2 separate regions of the Homo sapiens genome follow, and region 1 is linked to region 2. Evidence: promoter capture Hi-C in 16 types of primary human blood cells and fetal thymus (Javierre and others, 2016). All regions are on one chromosome and are shown on one strand. Each heading gives the region's core, a stretch centred on a gene start or on the middle of the fragment in contact. The rest is flanking DNA. Distances are from core to core; before and after follow the strand shown. Region 1 overlaps LOC105369468 (a long non-coding RNA gene). Region 2 holds the start of CARD18 (caspase recruitment domain family member 18).

Region 1 (5,310 bases), core at 1,675-4,174, 180 kb before region 2:
CTGTGCCCGTTGCCCAAAGTCCTGAACTCTCCTCTGTTGAGAAGAAAGAACTCAGTATCTCAGCATCTTTCCTGCACACCAATCTTCTGCTCTCTGTTAAAAGAAATACAGCCCCTGCCAGTGGGAGTGATCCTTGCCAGTCATCTTTCTGAAACCATGGAGAAGTTATGGGGCCAGAAACCATCCCATAGGCAGGAGTCTTCGTGGTCCTCGGGGCGTTTACTCAATCTCTTGTGGGACTGGGAAGGCATAAAAGGTTAGAATGTCTCCAAGGGCAGAAACAGGAACAGGCTTACACAGTTGCTGGCCTAGGGCTACAGATCCTGTCTTTCCATGCAAAAAAAGCCATTCCAATGTGCAGGGCCCCTGAAATGTGTGCCCAAGGCAGGGACCCTGCAATGTGTGCCCAAGGCAGGGACCCTGCCTGCCCAGGTCTAGGCACTCTGTGGAGCTTAGCTGCTCCAGGTCACTCACTGCAAGATGCCCTCCTGGCCCAAGCGGGACCTCCAATGGGCTATTTTCACCTGTGTGCTTTCTTTTGGACCTGGGTTGCCTTCATGACTCTAAATCAATTTTTAATTATTTAAAATGTCTAATATCCTGGTTATTTTCAAAATTGTTGTTATAAACACTGTGTATTAAACTGGATATTATCTTTCACAGATCTTGCAGCCACCACTGATTATTTTCTTATTGTACTTTCCTGGAAGTGGGGTTTCTATGTCAAACATGAGCTGTAAAGACATCGGTAAATATTAAAGAGGGCTTGCAGAGTAGCTATGAGGATTAACTCAAAAGAGAAAGCATTTTTACGTTCAATATACACATCTTAATTTTACTTTCTGCTGTTATTCAAGAAAATAATATTTTCCTTTACTTTTATATATAGTTATTTTTGGGTCTTATTTATTTTAATAAATTCATATTTCTGCTTGCTTTTTTTAGAAACGTTAGTACTACTAGTTTTATGTCAAATTCTAAAGAAAAGACTAAACCAAATGCCATGTGAGCTATTAAATCTTCTGTAAAATGACTTTGTATCCATGTTTAGGGGAACCATGTAAGAGCTTGAAACTCACAGGTGGTCCTATTTATGATCTCGAAAAGCTTGGTGGAAAAAATTAGTCACTATAAGAAATACTTGGTGAAAAAGCAATAGCTTAGAATCCTACATAGTTCACTATTACATTTAAATATTTAAAACAAAATATATCTCTGTGTACATACTACATGTAGGAGAAATGAGCATGTTAATTTGAATTTTTTTCAAACCTGAAATTAATGTTTTATATTTGTATGTTTGTATCTTTTATAAGAACTTGATTTATTGGATTCCTTTTTTATTAAAACTGAATTATTCAACTGTAAGGTATTGAGTGGTTTATTGCTCACTTAAAAATTGCCTCACGTCATCTTTTTATCACCAGGTAAAATTCGTTGAATGTTTTTTAGGCTTGGGTTTCTTTTTCTGGTCTATTACCACCAGAGTTTTTTTTTGTCTCTAGTCCTATTTTGTTAATATCTAGTTAAAATCACATTTCTTTTACAATCCACTGGATTGTATTTGTCTGAGGTTGGAATCTATTTTGCTTCTTGGCTTCAGTTCATATTTCTTCAGCTTCTATTTAGAAATAATGCATATCACTTAATTTAGTTTCAACAGTTAATTATGTTCTTTGGTTTTTAATTAATTTGATATTAAAAAATTAAACATTTGCCAAATCGATAAAATTAGTTCCATCCTTTCTTTGTTAACTTACATATATAATTTCTCACTGAATTTTATTTTTCCTCATGAATTATTAATTAACATTTCAAAATAAAGCATAGTTTCATAGATCATACACTTGCACCCACACACACAAACCAGTTATACATCCATGTTTGTAAACTTCTTAGTCAGTAGACTTTGTGTTATTATTTATTTTGAAATATTTGAGAATTTTGTTGCTGTGGAGACACATGACTGATATGTGTGGACACTTTACATTCAGTAAAAATTAAGCAAAATATTTATACACAGACATATAAATAAAACTTTCATGGGCTATTAATTCCAAACTCCTTTCAACCATGATAACCTAGATATGCTGGACAAAAGTGAATTTAGAGGTTGAGGCCAACATTTAATTAACCTTGCAATAAAGAAAATGAAATTCTCAGGTACCTGAAAAGAAAAGGGTACATTTAGTACCATAAACTCTGTATTTAATGGGAGTGGGGTGTGTTTTGAAATGCACAGAATAAGGTTTTAAATACTAGTGACTTGTACTTTAACACACCCCAAAGGGTTAGGATGCTCAAATGAGCAAGTGAGAAAGTAGGAAATTTTAAAAATTGAATAAAGTCTGAAATATTTAATTTCCAATAAAAATCTTACCAGTTCAGGGAGAAAACAAGAAACTTGTTTATTTCAATGGATTTGGATGGGGAGTGTATTCTCCTATGAGGAACTGGTGTACAAAGCCTTTTATTTGTCCTGGTTAGTGGCTAGAATTTAATAAACTTAAAAGGAGTAAGACAAAGGAAGCCAATCAGAGCAGACTGGTAGTGTCTGAACACAGAACAGTGCAAGGTGTGGGAAACCATACCAGACTCCATCTGAACAAAACCCAGGAAACACGTGAATGTATTCCTGAATATAGAATAAAGAATCTCCTTGTTAAACTTGCCTTGTAGACAGAAGAATCATGATCAGAACTGGAAAACAGTGGACCTTGGTTGATGTATTTACACCCTGCCTTCAATCCCTATTGATAGGACTTCCGTTTATGGTCAATTTAGAGTAATGAAGAACAGCTGTACTCTTCCCTGAAACAACTGAGAACAGACAAAATACATAAAGTAATAGTGTACAAAATATTAGGCATCACATGATGAAGGCAATGATCCTTAAGACATGGGAAACAACTAAAGTCAATTCGTTGAATGCTAGTTTTACTGCATTGAGTAAGCTCCTATACTGTGCTGCAGAGAAGGGAAAGTCGAGACAGAGCTTGGTGAGCTCTGTGAGTGAAGAATATGGACATGGGAGTCCAGAGAGACTAAGACTGCCAGAATTTGGACAGAGCACCAGAAAGGAGAGAACTCCATAGAAGGAGAACTCCAGAGATCTGTAGAGGGCCCCCTTGAGTATTCTGCTGTGTAATGATCAGTATTACCTGTATGGGGAAACTCTCTGAGGCTAGGAAAGTAAACACTCGAAAGGCTTATAGAGAAGAGTATCTGGCACTCAAATAAGGCTGAACTGTGGTCTATTTCCACCTGCTATGATGGAAAACCTCATGATTCACAGAGCATCATGTGGAGTACACAGAAGAATCTTTTTTCAGTAGTGGGGAAAGATTATCCTGAGACTGAGCTCTACTCTTGTTCTCCCTTACAAATCCTAAGAGCAAGGCCAGATAAGATCAAACTACGTCCAAATCTCTCAATTTTATCCTAGAATAAAGCTGAAAAATATGAATAGGATATTATATATATTATATACTATAGGATCTGTGGAGTATATACAGAGTATATAATGTATACACTATAGGAATAATATACTATACATATTAGAGGATTATATATATATGTACACACGCTATATATATACTCAAGGATCATTTTCTTTATCACATGATGACAAATATTTTTGTACACTATTACTTTACATATTGTATATATGTGTGTATATATATAGTGTCAGTATATTTTTGAGCTGTATTCTAGTTAAGATATTGTAATATGTGTATATCTGTGTATATACATGTGATATTATAATATGTGTATATCTATATATGGCATATACATATATATTACAATATCCTAAGTAGAATACAGCCCGAGAATATATAGACAAAGACATACACATACACATGCCCTTACAGACACATATATGCTTGAGGTTTATTATATGAAATATAAAGTACTAATTAAAGATACTTAATACAAAAATATCCTTCAACAAACAAAGTAAAAATGCCAATGTCTGGCAATGCTAACCAAAAAATTATCTGGTTTTCAAAGAGGCAAGATAATATGATCCCTAAGGAGTAGAAAAATCAGTCAAAAGTAAGGCTTAATGGACACAGATGTTAAATTAAAAGACAACTATATTAAAATAGTTCTGATAACTCTATTTCATATGTATGAAAAGTTAAGTAGGCCATGGAAGACAAAAAGGGACCCAAAGTATATTTCTGTCAAAACTGTAATTTGTGAGCTGAAAAATTCAAACAATGAGATTAATGGCAGATGGGACATTGCAGAAGAAAAGATTAGTAAACTTGAAGGCATAGCAATTGTATCTATCCAAAATGCCACACAAAGAGAACAGAAAACTAAGGATAATAAACAGAGCGTTGGAGAGCTGTGGGGCAACTTCAAGAAATGTAATATATGTGCAATTGTGTTCCCTGAAAAAGAGAGATAGACAGAGAAAATATTTGAGCAAATAATGGCCAAAATTATTCCAAATTTGTTTGAAACAACTATAGCTCCACAGAACCAAAAAGCTCAATGAAATCAAAGCATAAGGAACATGAATAAAATGACATCAAGATACAGCATAATAAAACATTTTCAAAATCATCAATAAAGAGAAAATCTTAAAAGTATCCCGAAGAATGAAAGACATATTATGTATTGAAAGACGATAATGATAAAGACCTCAGATTTCCTGTAAAAAATATATGTAATATGCTTGACACAATTCAAAGTACTGATTGTATAGCCGTAAACAATATAAATAAGCTTCAGACCTTGTAAAGCTTACATCTGTATAGTGAAATCATACAACAGAGATAAGCAAATGTTATAAATGATAAACTGTCAGACAGACAATGACAGCACAAGGGAACAGAGAATAAAAGGATGCTACCCTTTAAGGATTGTCAAGGAAGATACAGTCAGACTTTTGAATATTTAAGGAACATTTCAGGTATAGGGACTATTGTAGCCCAGGGATTGGAATAAGCTTGATGTTGAATGTAGTTGGCATTCAAATGAATGAATGAATGAATTAAGAACACAATTCATTCATGCTTTGATGTTAAGAATTGTTAACTTTTATTGATCATCTGTAAAGACACTCAACTGTGCACTATAGTTATTCCTAGGATTATTTTGATTGAGTGTCTATCATATGCCAGGTTCTTTAACAAATTCTTGAAATTTCTGTCATCAATTTACAAATTAAGTATTATGCTCCTTCCCTTTTAATGAAAAGAGTCTGAAAAATACCACCAGCCATTGTATAATTCCCAAATTTAAATTTAGGTCATATGTCTTTCTGGTTTGAAACTCTTTATATCACATCAATGTTTC
Region 2 (5,439 bases), core at 2,171-4,670:
TATAAAGAAATATAAGGTACCAGGGTACCTTCTTCCTTCAAGACTATTGCTAATTTAAGAGCAGCCTCTTTTAGATATGGCCAGGCAATGATTTTATATACATTATCTTAAATAGTCATAATAAATCTAGGAATAGTAATGATATAGATGCGGGAAGTGTCTGAATGGGGAAACTGAGGCTTAGATAGTTTTAACTAAGTCATTCATCATCTCATGCAACTAACAAAGTACACTTGAATGGGTGATTTGACTCCAAATCTGGGAAGAGGGGAAGGCTTCTGAAAAAAAAAATCTTACATTTGATTTGTGCTCCCACTAATGTATAGTCACTAGATATGTTCCAGAATGTTTATACCCAAGAACAGAGGAATGAAAGATGGAACATTGAGTATCTTCAAAGAGTTATAAATGACATAAGTAAAGGTGGCAACTAGATAACTTATGCTTTCATGTCATAACTGCTCCCTACTCCCACAAAAGTAACAAATACTCTTTTCCTAATGACAAATCTGAATTGCTAGTGCAAATAAAATTCCAGAAATCTGAAACGAGCCTAGATCTAAATTTTCAAGTCATCACTCATCCTTTAAAACACTACCTGTTGCTTATCATGTAATTTATTTATTTTATGATAATTATATCTCAATTCAAATTATATTCTGGAGTAAGTGCCTTTACAAATAGGGTAGTAGATAATTCCACTTTTAGTTATTATGAGGTCTCTATTCTCTTCTTGTAGTCTTACCAGGCTTACACATACTTGAGTGTTTTCCAGAAAAACAGGAAAAGGAAATCCTGCCTTTTCCATTCAAACATTATAATCATGGGCACTTTCATTTTGAAGTCAGCAATAGAGTGGCATATCTAAGAGTTCTCTGCTTAGCTTTGAGAGATCTGGGAAGCATATGTGAGTTTGGGAATCCTCGTGCTTACAGTTTTGCTTTCTAGAGGTATCAGTTGGCCACCAGCTATTGTCAGGCACCATCTCCTGTACTTCCATAGAATGGTGTGCTTTCCTGGCTGGTGGAGAACCAGGATAATATTCTTCTCTCTGTGATTTCCACAGTGATGTTCCATTCTTTCTGTGATTTGTCTTCTTCTTGTTCCAGATCCCAGTTTCATTCAGACCATCTCTAATTTCTATCCTGCCATAAATATTCCCTAAAGCAAGAGGACACAGAGCCTGCTATAAGCTAGATTGGAAAAGTAGGGAGAAAAAGAAAAAAAAGTCAAAGAAGTCAAAGATTAAAATCTCCACAATGTTTGACTATATACTACCAAGATAGAAATGTCTATTCCCAAGAAAATAAATGCAATTATTTGCCAAGAAAGCAGAAAGCAAATTGGCAGACTTCAGGTAAAATGTGAACCACAGGCAAGCTTTGTTTAATTTTCACAGTGTTTTAAAACAATAGTAAACCAACTGAAAGTATTTTTAAAATTAGAGATAAAGTACCCTTAAAATGAAAAAGTAAACTGAATTTTCATTCTCTTAGCCAAAATTAGTTGGGTCTGAGGAGCCCTGCCCCTTCAGAGAGGACTACCCTTACCAGATAGGCACAGCCTCCCCTCTCCAATTCACCTCATTTGGTGTATTCCTGGGCCCATGGGCACATAAGCTGTAGCACCTTGCCCAGATTTTAAATATTTATCAAATTATGTCACATATATAAGCTAATACAAATATTTTACCAAAGATGTGATTCCCCCAATCTTCTGAGAATATTTTTCTTTAAAGAACTCTTAAAATATTTTGTATACATTTAATGAGTATATGTGTCTCTCCTACTATCATACAACTTCTAATAGGGTAGGAATTTTTGTCTGTTTTTGGTCATTACTACATCCCCAGCATCTATAATAATGTATGGCACATAGACTTGGGTCTCAGTAAATAACTATGCTGAATATTTATGTTGAATGAATTGATGAGATGAATAGGGGATTTTACATGGACATATATAATAATTGAGGTGCTTCCTTTATGCCAGGGGCTATTTTAATGACTTATATTTGTTCATTAAATACTTGCAATAAAACTGCAAGGTAGGAATTATCATCAAACCTATCTGGCAGATGGGAAGACTAAAGCTTGGTTAATTTCCTTTCCTAAGATCAGCAGTTAAAATATGGATCCAACCATTCTGGCTTCAGAGTCTGTGCCCTTAATCTTTGTAATACAGTGTTACTTAAAATGGTGCCATCTGAAGAAAAAGAGCCTTACGTAACAAAGCACTTTTATTCCAAATAGCAAAACTGCTTCATACACCATTTCTGCGTCTGGAGACTGCCTAGAGCTTAGGTAAAAAACAATGAAAGGAAGGTAAGAAGTCTTAGTCCATCTCACACCCATTAGGATGGCTATTATCAAAAGAACAGAAAAATAATATGTATTGGTGAGGACATGGAAAAACTGGAACGCTTCTGCTTTATATGTGGGAATGTAATACAGTGCAGCTGCTATGGAAAACAGCATACCGATTTCACAAAACAAAATGAAATAGAATTACTCTATGATTTGTCAGTTCCACTTCTGGGTATATATTCAAATAATTGACAGCAGAATCTCAAAAACATATTTGTATACCATGTTCATAGCAGTGTTATTTACAATAGCAAAAGGGAAGAAATTTGTGCTCAATGAAGAATGGGTAAACTAAAATGTGGTACATACATAGAATGGAGTATTATTCAACTTCAGAAAGAAAGGAAATTGTGACCCATGCCACAACATGAATAAACACCGAGGACATTACACTAAGTGAAATAAGTCAGGCATCAAAAAATGAATACTGTATAATTCTACTTACATGAGATACCTAGAGAAGTCAAATTCATAAAGACAGAAAGTACAATGTTAGTTGCCAGGGACTGATGGAAGGAAAGGATAGAGAGTTACTGTTTAAGGAGTATAGAGTTTCAATTTCCCAAAATGAAAACAACTACAGTTGGATGATATTGATGGCTACACAGCAATGTGAATGTACTTAATGCCACTGAACTGGATACTGTAAAATGGCTAAGATGGTAAATTTTATATTATGTGTATTTTACCACAATTTAAAAAAGGAACTCTTAGTACTTGATTTAGGTGGCACAACTACCCTATACTGTGATTTTACTTTCCATTTAAATCTCAGTGAATTAAAGATTGTTTACTGCATGTGTTTAGCTCTGTGTGTGCCTTCTCAATTCTCTCCTATTCTTGTTTCTCACCCACCAAGGAATGGTAAAGCAATTTTCTTATGGGCACAGTTCATGCTACAATCTGAGATTCAATTGTGTAAAAATACCTTGGGAAATGACAATAGTTAACAGCTTCTTGGGCAATAATTATAAATACACATGTGTAGGTGTAAGTATTGTTCATTGATCTGTGTACACGCCCTGCCTAAAAGGATAGAGCTACCTTGCCTGTCATTGCAAGTGTAACACACATTGCAAGTGCCAACGTGAGGAGCCATGGCTGGTGAGTCTTCCCCAGTAAGAGGATAGGTCTTAGGGAGGAATTAGTTTGGGAAAGGACTGCCTTTCTCATTAGGCTTTGTGAAGGTTTGTGTGGGCAGCCTTGGGGTGGAGAGAGAAAGAAGAAGGGAGAGGCAGGGTGGGAAGATGCCCAGACTTGCACAGCGTTTTTGAAGGAACAGATAAAGGCCAGGAAGAATCTGGGATCCTACTGGTATCTGCTATAATTTTGCTAGTGTTGTCCACATTTGAAGAGTTATGTAGTTCAGGATGAGAATGGGCACAGGATGGGTATCAGTAGCTGTTGTTCTCAAAGGAAACAGTCAATTCCCTTCAAAATTCATGAAACTGTCAATTCCCTTCAAAATTCAAGAAACTGGGATGTGTCAGAATAGAATGACTTCTGATTTTTAGGAGATTCACAGAAAAATCATGAAGTCAAGTTTCCCAGGTCACTCAGTGAGCATATGTAGGTAATGCTAGAATCAGAAGGAAGTACGTGGAGTAAATGCAAAGGTATAAGACCGTTCCTTGGGATTACTGTACTTGTGGAGAGAAATGTTTAAATGATTGTTACCCTGTTGGTAAATTGAGAGGGAAATTGTGTCATGTTCATTATTTGAGGAATCTTTGTGCTTCCAACAGACCAACTCTTGCGTAAAAAGAGAAGAATTTTTATCCATTCAGTGGGTGCAGGCACAATAAATGCCTTGCTGGATTGCCTATTAGAGGATGAAGTTATTAGCCAGGAAGACATGAACAAAGTGAGAGATGAAAATGACACTGTCATGGATAAGGCTCGAGTCTTGATTGACCTTGTTACTGGAAAAGGACCCAAGTCTTGCTGCAAATTTATCAAGCATCTCTGTGAAGAAGACCCTCAACTTGCCTCAAAGATGGGTTTGCACTAAGGTAAGGTGGAATGATTCAACCTAATGTCCAAATAGGCCCTGTATCTTGAATTCAGTTATGATTTTCTTCACTTGTCTTGTCAGTTGATAATAGGGTTCCTATCATTTTAGCCTCAGACTCCATTCCTTTATGCATGGCTCTAGCTTATGTCTCTTCTGTCTACGTTTTTGTGTCCCTTGTACCTGTTCTCTCAGTACTCCCTGCTGACCACAGCTCATCTCTAATTCTATGTAGGTGGTAGATCATTACTGTAGTTCATTTAAAGAGCCTAGATGTTTTATCCTGAATCTTTTAATGGTCCTGGGGAGCAATGTACAATATCACTCCCTCTTGAGCCTAAGAAGCCCATGTATTTATTAGAAGAGAAGGTATAAGCTCTTTTTGTACCTACCACCCTGCTCTTACCCCATCTCCCTATTAAGTACTTTTCAGAATATACAATGATGATGGAATTGTCAAAGAATAAATTGAGTGTGTATATAAAATTAAATATGCACTAAATAATTATATTTGCATGAAATTATATATGGATTCTCGTTGGAAGTCATCTCCTTTGCCTTTTCTTTTGTGTAATATGGTCTACTTGCATGGGGCTAGTCTACAGACCATTCTCTGTAGCCTATCCCTTTGTATTTCTAGGCCTCCTAAGAGCCCTGATGCAGGCTCTTGTATCTGAGCTGGCCCATTCCAATACCACTTTTCTCCCTCCACAGAGAGAAGATGGAACTCTGGAGCACTTCAGAGACTTCCCAGAGCTTCTTCCAAGGGAGAAGATATTCTCGTGAAAGAAAAAAACAAAACAAAACAACAGTGCTTTTTTCAAACCTGATTAATTTCATCAATTTCCAATAAATCTTTCATTCTCTCATATTACTTTCTTCTTATTCTTTCTCTCCTCATACCAACAGAGGATAATTCATCAATAATAATGAAGGTCATGATGATTGTAATGTAATTAAGAAAGTCCCTCCCTTTCCCTTCCTTTCTGTTTAGTTCCTTTGCAATCCTGTAGAGACATGTACAGCTTACTTTGGTGCTTTTAGCACTGAGAGTCTGCTGTGA

Evidence for each region. The method cuts DNA at HindIII sites, captures the fragments that hold promoters and counts their contacts. A CHiCAGO score of 5 or more calls a contact.
Region 1: a fragment that was not itself captured here is called in contact with the fragment with the promoter of CARD18 in region 2 in 1 of 17 cell types (neutrophils); the score reaches 5.8 in neutrophils.

Annotation. Positions count from the first base shown.
Region 1 is chr11:105,313,313-105,318,622 of GRCh38, reverse strand. The region is part of intron 2 of LOC105369468 (a long non-coding RNA gene); the gene reads left to right. Among named protein-coding and RNA genes, the nearest start is that of CARD18, 180 kb to the right of the region's middle. The HindIII fragment of the contact is 3,630 bases long and covers 1,110-4,739 here.
Region 2 is chr11:105,137,750-105,143,188 of GRCh38, reverse strand. It overlaps CARD18 (caspase recruitment domain family member 18), which reads left to right and starts at 3,420. Exons shown (of 3, transcript NM_021571.4): 1 at 3,420-3,469; 2 at 4,111-4,377; 3 at 5,091-5,439. The coding sequence starts at 3,463. The coding sequence ends at 4,376. The HindIII fragment of the contact is 11,660 bases long and covers 2,094-5,439 here.